Regions from separate parts of the Homo sapiens genome. Here region 1 is linked to region 2. Evidence: promoter capture Hi-C in human tissues and cell types (Jung and others, 2019). All regions are on one chromosome and are shown on one strand. Each heading gives the region's core, a stretch centred on a gene start or on the middle of the fragment in contact. The rest is flanking DNA. Distances are from core to core; before and after follow the strand shown. Region 1 has its middle 39 kb from the start of PTH. Region 2 holds the start of PTH (parathyroid hormone).

What was found. Contacts are between HindIII fragments. The study calls those that stand out against the background at their distance.
Region 1: a fragment that was not itself captured here is called in contact with the fragment with the promoter of PTH in region 2 in 2 of the 25 tissues and cell types used here (hippocampus and thymus).

What each region holds. Positions count from the first base shown.
Region 1 is chr11:13,531,802-13,537,320 of GRCh38, reverse strand. No RefSeq gene overlaps it. Among named protein-coding and RNA genes, the nearest start is that of PTH, 39 kb to the right of the region's middle. The HindIII fragment of the contact is 3,343 bases long and covers 2,121-5,463 here.
Region 2 is chr11:13,493,670-13,499,190 of GRCh38, reverse strand. It overlaps PTH (parathyroid hormone), which reads left to right and starts at 3,194. Exons shown (of 3, transcript NM_000315.4): 1 at 3,194-3,280. RefSeq lists an enhancer at 2,799-2,820 and promoters at 3,035-3,197, 2,190-3,249, 2,511-3,261. The HindIII fragment of the contact is 4,838 bases long and covers 517-5,354 here.

The DNA.
Region 1 (5,519 bases), core at 2,543-5,042, 38 kb before region 2:
TTCTGCCAGATACCCTAAATTATCTCTCTTGAGTTCAACAATCCACAGATCTCTTGGGCAGACGTAAAATGCCACCAGTCTCCTTGCTAATGTATAGCAAAGTCACCTTTATTCCAGTTCTCAAAAAGTTCCTCATCTCCATCTGATACCACCTCAGCCTGGACTTTATTATCCATATCACTATCAGCATGTTGGTCAAAGCCATTCAACAAGTCTCTAGGAAGTTCTAAACTTTCCCACATTTCACTGTCTTCTTCTAAGCCCTCCAAACTGTTCCACCTCTGCCCATTACCCAGTTCCAAAGTCTCTTCCACATTTTCTTGTTTGTTTACAGCAGCACTCCACTACCCAGTACGAATTTACTGTATTAGTCCATTTTCATGCTGCTATAAAGAACTGCCCGAGACTGGGTAATTTATAAAGGAAAGAGACTTAATTGACTAACAGTTCCACAGGGCTGGGGAGGCCTCAGGAAACTTACAATCATGGTGGAGGGAGAAGCAAACATGTCCTTCTTTACATGGCAGCAGGAAGGAGAAGTGCTAAGCAAAGGGGGAAAAGTCCCTTATAAAACCATCAGATTTCATGAGAACTCACTCACTGTCGTGAAAAGAGCAGTATGGGGGTAACAGGCCCCGTGATTCAATTACTTCCCACCAGGTCCCTTCCATGACATGTGAGGATTATGGGAACTACAATACAAGAAGAGATTTGGGTGGGGACACAGCCAAACGATATCACTGCTTTTGGGAAATATTTCCCAATTCTCCCTATCACAGTTAGGGCTTTCCTCAACTGTATTTTCTGTGTATTATAATTACTGTACACATCTACACCCAACATTGAGGTTCTAAAACTTGTTTCCCTGGAACCTGGCCAAGGCTGTGGTACAAAATAGAAGCTATTCAATTTTAAAGTGCTTTCTAAAAAGTTATTTCGAGTCAATCTCTGCATCTCTAAGCTTCACTTTCCTAATTTGTAAAATTTAAATTGTAATACCTACTCCATAAAACCATTAGTAAATTGAACCTAATAATTTAAACAAATGCCCTTTGTAAACCATACTGTAACATATAACTTTTAATTCTAAAGTCACCTGTAGAATTAAAGTGTGATGAACTTTTAATTATAAAGTTCATCACACAAGTGTAAGGAGCATTTGAATCAGCAAGATGTCAAAATACCCTTTATTCCAGGTTTCATCCCTTCTACCAACCACCCTACCACCAGGTTCTCTTTGCTCCACTCGATGGGGGCATTACTCAAGTCAATAACAAGAAGTTACACCAGGGGGCTCCCCTGTATTTTCCATATGAAGTCTGCAAAGTGGCCTTCACAGGAAACCCAAATACTTCTGAGTTCCAAAGTATTTGCTCTCTTGGAACAAGACAACATAAAAGAATTCACAAACCTAGAAACAACATCATTCGTTTTTATCAAACCACTGTCTGAGACTTTCTTACTTCTTCTTAGCCTGTTAAACTAGTAGAAGGAATTACCAATCCTCTACTACTAAAGAGATATAAATACTAAAAGACAAACTGTCACTCGACTGAGGAATTCAATATATTATTTATTCACAGGTTTGATCCCAGGTTGAGCTCAATAGAGGACAAACACAAGAAGACAAACATTTAATTATCATCTTCCCAAAAAGATCTTGCAAATAGGAGATGGGGGGTGGGGAGGGTAAATAAATGAAAGTATATCTGATGTTTTCCTTTTTAAGATAATCAGCTACAAACTGTAATACAAGGGACCGTAGATAAAGAGTCAAGGACTGGTTCTAATGCTGGATGAACTTCTAACTTCTGCTAATTGAGTGATCACCTACCTTTAGACCTCAATTTTTTCACTTTTAAATGAGTTTTTTTGGGGAGAGAAGGGGTCTTCACATCAGCTTTAATGACATATTATTTACATATGATTGTATGTTTAAATAGTTCTTAAGTGTAATTTTTTTTTTTTTTTTTTTTTTGAGACAGAGTCTTGCTCTGTCGACCAGGCTGGAGTGCAGTGGTGCAATCTCAGCTCACTGCAAGCTCCACCTCCCAGGTTCACGCCATTTTCCTGCCTCAGCCTCCTATCTTAAGTGTAATTTAATGAGTTCTGAAAACGTATGTAGTGCTATTATCTATTCACCAGTTGAACATTTGGGTTGTTTCTAGGCTTTTAAAAATTATTATTACTGGTGGAGAGGCAAGATGGCCAAATAGGAACAGCTCCAATCTGCAGCTCCCAGTGAGACCAATGCAGAAGGTGGGTGACTTCTGCATTTCCAACTGAGGTACCCAGTTCATCTCACTGGGACTAGACAGTGGGTGCAGCCCACGGAGGGACAGCCAAAGCAGGGTGGGGAGTCAACTCACCCAGGAAGTGTAAGGGTTGGGGAACTCCCTCATCTTACCAAGGGAAGAGCTGAGGGACTGTGCCATGAGGGACAGTGCTATCTGGCCCAGATACTATGCTTTTCCCACAATTTTTGCAACCCGCAGACCAGGAGATTCCCTCGGGTGCCTACATCCCCAGGGCCCTGGGTTTCAAGCAAAAAACTGGGCGACTGAACAGACACCAAGCTAGCTGCAGAAGTTTTTTCTTTCCCATATCCCAGTGGCACCTGGAACCCCAGTGAGACAGAACTGTTCACCCCGCTGGAAAGGGGGCTGAAGCCAGGGAGCCAAGTGGTCTTGCTCAGTGGGTCCCACCCCATGGAGCACATCAAGCTAAGATCAACTGGCTTGAAATGCTCGCTGCCAGCACAGCAGTCTGAAGTCAACCTCGGACACTAGGTCAGCCTGGTCAGGGGAGAGGCATTCGCCATTACTGAGGCTTGAGTAGGCGGTTTATCCCTCACAGTGTAAACAAAGCTGCCAGAAGTTCACACTTGGTGGAGCCCACCACAGCGCGGCAAAGTCACTGTAGCCAGACTGACTCTCTAGATTTCTCCTCTCTGGGAAGGGCATCTCTGAAAGAAAGGCAGCAGCCCCAGTCAGGAGCTTATAGATAAAATTCCTATCTCCCTGGGACAGAACACCTGGGGGAAGGGGTGGCTGTGGGCACAGCTTCAGCAGACTTAAGCATTACTGGCCGCCAGCTGTGAAGAGAGCAGCGGATCTCCCAGCACAGCACTCAAGCTCTGCTAAGGGACAGACTGCCTCCTCAAGTGAGTCCCTGACCCCCATGCTTCCTGACTGGGAGACCCCTCCCAGCAGGGGTCGACAGATACCTCATACAAGCGAACTCTGGCTGGTATCTGGCGGGTGCCCCTCTGGGGTGAAGCTTCCAGAGGAAGGAGCAGGCAGCAATCTTTGCTGTTCTGCAGCCTCCACTGGTGATACCCAGGCAAATAGGGTCTGGAGTGGACCTCCAGCAAACACCAGCAGACCTGCAGCAGAGGGGCCTGTCTGTTAGAAAGAAAACTATCAAACAGAAAGCAATAACATCAAAGTCAACATCAAGTAAAAGGATGCCCATGCAAAAACCCCATCAAAGGTCCTCAGCATCAAAGATAAAAGGTAGATAAATCCACAAAGATGAGGAAATACCAGTGCAAAAAATGCTGAAAATTCCAAAAACCAGAATGCCTCTTCTCCTCCAAAGGAACACAACTCCTTGCCAGCAAGGGAACAAAACTGGATGGAGAATGAGTTTGACGAATTGACAGAAGTAGGCTTCAGAAGGTGGGTAATAACAAACTCCTTCGAGCTAAAGGAGCATGTTCTAACACAATGCAAGGAAGCTAAGAATGTTGGTAAAAGGTTACAGGAACTGCTAACTAGAATAACCATTTTAGAGAAGAACATAAATGACCTGATGGAGCTGAAAACACAGCATGAGAACTTCATGAAGCATACACAAGTATCAATAGCCAAATTGATCAAGCAGAAGAAAGGATATGAGATTGAAGATCAATTTAATGAAATGAAGCATGAAGACAAGATAGAGAAAAAAGAATGAAAAGGAATGAACAAAGCCTCCAAGAAATGTGGGACTATGTGAAAAGACCAAAACTACAAATGACTGGTGTACCTCAAAGTGATGGGGAGAATGGAACCAAGCTGTAAAACACTCTTCAGGATATTATCCAGGAGAACTTCCCCAACCTAGCAAGACAGGCCAACATTCAAATTAAGGAAATACAGAGAACACCACTAAGATACTCCTTGAGAAGAGCAACCCCAAGACACATAATCATCAGATTCACCAAGGATGAAAAGAAGGAAAAAATGTTAAGGGCAGCCAGAGAGAAAGGTCAGGTTACCCTCAAAGGGAAGCCCAGTAGACTAACAGCAGATATCTCTGCAAAAACCCTACAAGCCAGAAGAGAGTGGGGGCCAATATTCAACATTCTTAAAGAAAAGAATTTTCAACCCAGAATTTCATATGCAGCCAAACTAAGCTTCATAAGCGAAGGAGAAATAAAATCCTTTACAGACAAGCAAATATTGAGGGATTTTTGTCACCAACAGGCCTGCCTTACAAGAGCTCCTGAGGAAGCACTAAATACAGAAAGGAAAAACTGGTACCAGCCACTGCAAAAACATACCAAAATATAAAGACAAATGACACTATGAAGAAGCTGCATCAACTAATGTGCAAAATAACCAGCTAGCATTATGATGACAGGATCAAATTAACACATAACAATATTAAGCTTAAATGTAAATGCCCCAATTAAAAGACACAGACTGGCAAATTGGATAAAGAGTCAAGACCCATTGGTGTGCTGTATTCAGGAGACTCATCTCATATGAGCTACACATAGGCTCACAATAAAGGGATGGAGGAATATTTACAAAGCAAATGAAAACCCAAAAAAAGCAGGAGTTGCAATCCTAGTCTCTAATAAAACACACTTTAAACCAACAAAGATAAAAAAAGACGAAGAAGGGCATTACATAATGGTAAAGAGATCAATGCAACAAGAAGAGCTAACTATCCTAAATATATATGCACCCAATACAGGAGCAACCAGAATCATAAAGCAAGTTCTTAGAGACCTACAAAGAGACTTAGACTCCCACACAATAATAGTGGGAGACTTTAACACCCCACTGTCAATATTAGACAGATCAATGAGACAGAAAATTAACAAGAATATTCAGGACTTGAACTCAGCTCTGGGCCAAGCAGACCTTATAGACATCTACTGAATACTCCCCCCAAAATCAACAGAATATGCATTCTTTTCAGCATCACATAGCACTTATTTTAAAACAGACCACATAATTGGAAGTAAAACACTCCTCAGCAAATGTAAAAGAACAGAAATCATAACAAACAGTCTCTTAGACCACAGTGCAATCAAGTTAGAGCTCAGAATTAAGAAACTCACTCAAAACCGCACAACTACATAGAAACCAAACAACCTGCTCCTGAATGACTACTGGGTAAATGATGAAATTAAGGCAGAAATAAATATCTTCTTTGAAACTAACGAGAACAAAGACACAACGTACCAGAATTTCTGAGACACAGCTAAAGCATTGTTTAGAGGGAAATTTATAGCACTAAATGCC
Region 2 (5,521 bases), core at 1,945-4,444:
GATGCCAAAAGCAATGGCAATGAAAGCAAAAATTAACAAATGAGATATAATTAAACTAAAGAGCTTCTGCACAGCAAAAGAAACTATCAACAGAGTAAAGAGACAACCTACAGAATGGGAGAAAATTTTTGCAAACTATGCATCTGACAAAGGCCTAATATCCAACATCTATAAATTAAACAAATTTACAAGAAACAAACAACCCCATTAAAAAGTGGGTAAAGGACATGAACAGACATTTTTCAAAATAAGACATACATGTGGCCAACAAGCGTATGGAAAAAAGCTCAACATCACTGATCATCAGAGAAATGCAAATCAAAACCATAACGAGCCACCATCTCACACCAGTCAGAATGGCTGTTATCAAAAAGCCAAAAAATAACAGGTATGGGTGAGGTTGTGGAGAAAAAGGAACATTTATACACTGTTAGTGGGAGTGTAAATTAGTTCAACAATTGTGGAAAACAGTGTGGCGATCCCTCAAAGACTAAAAGCAAAACTACAATTTGATCCAGCAATCCCATTACTGGGTATATACTCAAAGGAATATAAATCATTCTATAATAAAGACATATGCATGCGTATGTTCATTATAGCACTATTCACAATAGCAAAGACATGCAATCAACCTAAATGCCCAACAGTGGTAGACTGGATAAAGAATACGTGGTGCCTACATACCATGGAATACTAGGCAGCCATAAAAAAGAACAAGATGGAGCTAGAGGCCACTATCCTTAGCAAACTAACATAGGAACAGAAAACCAAATATCTCATGGTCTCACTTATAATTGGGAGCTAAAAGATGAGAACACATGGACACAAAGAAGGGAACCACACACACTGGGGCTTACTGAAGGATGGAGAGTGGAAGGAGGCGGAGGATCAGGAAAAATAACTAATGGGCACTAGGCTTAATACCTGGGTCATGATATAATTAGTACAATAAACCTCCACGACATGAGTTTACCTATATAACAGGCCTGTACATGTACCCCTGAACTTAAAAGTTAAAAAATAAAAATCCATTAGTGGCTGGGTGTGGTGGCTCATGCCTGTAATCCCAGCACTTTGGGAGCGAGAGGTGGGAGGACTGCTTGAGCCAAGGACAGCCTGGGCAATTTAGCTACACTCTGCCTCCACAAAAATTTAAAAATTAGCTGGTTGTGGTGCTGTGTGCCTATAGCCCCCACTACTCAGAAGGCTGAGGTGGAAGGACTGCTTGAGCCCCGAAAGTTGAGGCTGCCATGTCCATACCACTGCACCACTCCAGTCTGAGTGACAGAGTGAGATCCTATCTCAAAGAAAAAAGAAAAACCATCTGTATTTCCAATTCTTCTTCTCAACAGAGTATAGCAGAAAAATGACACACAAACATCACATGTAGAGTTTGCATCAGAAGAGGTCTTTAAAAAGATCAAGACAACAGATTTTTACAGTTAAAAGAGACCTCTTGGTTATCTAGTTCAACTTTCTTCTATGTATGAATCTCTATAGTATGCCTGATAAATGCTCATCTACCTTCTACTTGAATATTCTCAGTGATGGAGAAATCACTATTTGAGAAGGTACTTGATTCCTTATTTTGACAATTATAATGTCCAAGTTAAACCCAATGAACCCAGCCCTTCCTTCTTAAACCACAGAGAATACTCCTTCTTCCTTATGGTAACCCTATAAATAATTAAACACAGCTATAAAGTCATCCCGTCTTTTTTTCCTCAGACTTTTCTAGTTTCATTCAACTACTTCTCATGTTATAGTTTTCAACATTTTCACCAAACTGATTGATATCCTCAGTGTATGTTCCCATTTGTTTCTACTGCTTCTAAAATGGAGCCTGGAGCAACACTCTAAGTGAGGTTAACCCAGAGTGGAGAATCTCCTAGGACAGGACTAGTATATATCTCTCATTATAAACTCCATACGGTTACTATTCAAATTTGTACTGGCTCTTACCTAAGGTAGAGTCAAACCTTGACAATGGCTAGTAGGAAAAAGGATGACATGAAGCCAGGATGGGACCAGAGCTGAGAGAACTGATCCCACTCTGGCACCGGATCTTTGGTGGGAAGGCAAAGCTGTCTAAAGGAGTCCTAGATATATCAAAGACATTCAGGGTGTTTTGACAGGTGGACCAGGAAAATATTGCTGGAGGAATATTTGAAGTCAGACATGTGGCAGCATCATGCCTCCAATAGGTTTTGGAGCAGGCTCTCATCATCCCTTAGGGAACATGAGAATAAAGACCTAACCCCTAGGGGAAAATGTTGCAAAGAGCTTTTGCTGTGTTTTCAGATGACTTTGCAAATTAAAGTCAAGAAGACTGGAGTTCAAAGAAGGGCTGTATTTCTAGGCAGAAACTGAGGTAGTAAGAATCTGGTGTCATAAAGACCTTTGTTGAATTCCATCTTTTCTGCTTTCCAAGCCTAAGTTTCCTCATGTAAAAATGGGGATAAGCACTTAACTTTAGTACTTTAAGTACTAACTTTAAAGGACTGCTGTGAAGATCTAGTGGGATAATATATGTAGTTAGGCATGCAGTTAGTGCTTATCAAATGTTATTATTATAGATTAAGATGCACAAATAAAATATAAGTTAAATAAATTTTAAAATAATTTCACTTTTGAAGCTTTTAAAGTAATTATGTACTAAGAGCATTTTCTCAAATTATTCTTAACACTTCCTTTAAGAAAAGGGCTATATCTGTTTTTTGAAAGATGACCAGAAGTGACATGGATTGGTTGAAAATGGCTTGTAAAGTAAGCCTAACATTTATGATTTATTACCATAAAAACTGTACCAACAGTACGGTTATAACAAATACACTTATTTTTGGGTTTTATTTTCAAGTAAGATAATGACTTTATCATAAACCTTTGAAATCAGTCTTTTTACAGTATAAATTCAGATTCATTAATCCACATAGAATTTTTCTCGATGGTATAATTCTGTATTTGTTAAAAGTCTTTGCATAAGCCCCTTGTCAAGCCAAATGCTGTTTTCCTTTTAGTATCCAATTATCTGAAACTTAAGAAGAGTGTGCACCGCCCAATGGGTGTGTGTATGTGCTGCTTTGAACCTATAGTTGAGATCCAGAGAATTGGGAGTGACATCATCTGTAACAATAAAAGAGCCTCTCTTGGTAAGCAGAAGACCTATATATAAAAGTCACCATTTAAGGGGTCTGCAGTCCAATTCATCAGTTGTCTTTAGTTTACTCAGCATCAGCTACTAACATACCTGAACGAAGATCTTGTTCTAAGACATTGTATGGTAAGTAAACTTAAAAATTCACTTCTGAATCTCATGAGATTTTGATAATCAAGTTATTATTTAATGTGTACCATTTCTACAAATACCATGTTGTTTCTTCAAGGTAAAATGCTAAGAAGTTTGAGTTATGTTTAATATAAAATGCCACATACAAAATAAATTAATGCTACTCAAATCACAAAATCCTTTTTGATTAAAGTCTTCTGAGATACCTTGCCTTTTAAAACCTCATCTGAAATTACAACAAAAAATCATTAAAATTTGGCATGCTATGCTTTAATATAATAGTATCGGTGTCAAAATTTTGAAATAAAACAGGTTGATGGTGAATGAATAGTTCTGATTTAAATAATCTTTATAAATTTATTAAGTGGAGTTAATATTCTGTTTTTCCTGCAGAGTATTCTTATCTAGATTATTTATTTTATGGCTCATAAAGAGCCCAATCTGTATACTAAAGTTGGATAAGCCCAGTTTGACTAGTAAATATTTATTTCCTTTACATAAATGACAGCTGTATTCTGAAAACAGTATTTCCTATGCTATTTCTAAATGATGCAGTTTCCCTGTAAAATAGGAGTACATAACTACTCTATGTGTATGTTAAAAGGTAGTACACTGAGCATTAAGGAAAAGCACTTCTATAATAACAGCCTTTGCAAGTACTGAAATGCAGATTAAGGCAAGAATATCCTATACTGATGTGAAACGAGGAAAGAGACAAAAGTTATATTAAAAGATAATTGTTAATAAAATAAGTTGAAGAAATAAGCTACAAACAAGCATTCCATTCAGAGATAAAGCTCGAAATCCATATCACAAGTAATTAATCAGATGATTTTTAAATGCTTTGACACATTATTTTTAATGCTAGGAGAAATGTGAATTAATTTAGTGAAAATCTCTAGATTAGCACCTATTAGTTTGGTATTTATGGTTATTACAATGCCTGAAATGAAGGTTACTTAAGAAAAGGATTTGCTACGTAAATAGTGTTAACAATTTACACTATGAAGAAAATTAGGCATTTTCAAGCAAGTTATAAACATTTAGGTATAATCAACATAAAATGCAGTGCGGGGGGATTTCTCAAAAATAGGCTCTTTCATTCCTCTTGTAGCTTAAGATTTCTGCAGTGTGACAGAAGGGAGCATGAGAAGCATGGCTCACCAGCCAGCCTCTATTGTCTATGTAATTAGAAGCTTCAGAACTCACTAATACCACTGTACCTTTCACTGGCGCATTACCCCATAAAACTTGAGATGAGGTGAGATCTGAGTATAAAGATAGGTCAGAAGTATTTTAAAGGGCTTAATTTGCCAAAAAGAAAAGTAAAAAGCTAGAGACCCTTTTTGCAGAACATTTGGTGACCACACATTTGAGGGAAGATGTGGCATTAGATGAAGCAGAAGCAAACCCTGCTCTTAGGGGCTCATCTAGGTGAGTGCACAGCCTGTGACACTACAGGGAGAGGCTCAGTAAACTGAGATCCAGCATTCTGTATGACAGAGGCATTGCTTATCACAGAGGTTCTGAATTTTAAGTAGGAAGTACATAATGAAGAGGGCTTTAAAAATTGCTAAGAAAGCGAGTCACCAGGGCTGGCAGTAGTGTAACAGGGCCATCCTGAGCTGTTAGGAGAGTAGATGCAGGGAGGGCTGGTGACCTCCGTGGGTTTATCTGTTGGAGACTCTTCTCTCCAAATCCCAGGCCTGGCTTCCAGCACCATCCAGCTGTGCCCAAGAAGCCACGCTGGTCTGTTCTCCAAGTCTTTTAAATGGTGCCTAATTTTTCTAAGTGAGCTTAGCAATGAGAAGAAAAAAAAAACATGAATTATTTTTCTGGAAAATCAAGGAGACATGGGTAACAACAGGCACTAATAAATATTTATAGATGAGTGAATGAGGAAATAATTACATAAAAAAGGTCAGTGACAATTGATAAATGACAAGGAAATATTTAATTAGGTAAAAGTAAACCATTGCTCTCTATACTAGGATAGACTTTATCTACTTCGTCTTTTCCTAAGTCAGCATGTTAATTCTGGGGGAGGATCATAAGAAAGGAAATACTTTTTTAAAAAAAATTTAAAAACATGTAACAAAGCAAGGGTAAAATATATGTATATACATAAGTGGTATGACTGTAAAACTGTACTTTCCATTAGTTATTAGCTGAGTTAAGAGAATGATCACGTTGAAGTACTGTGTGGACTAGAAATGTACTCTGTCATCATGCAAT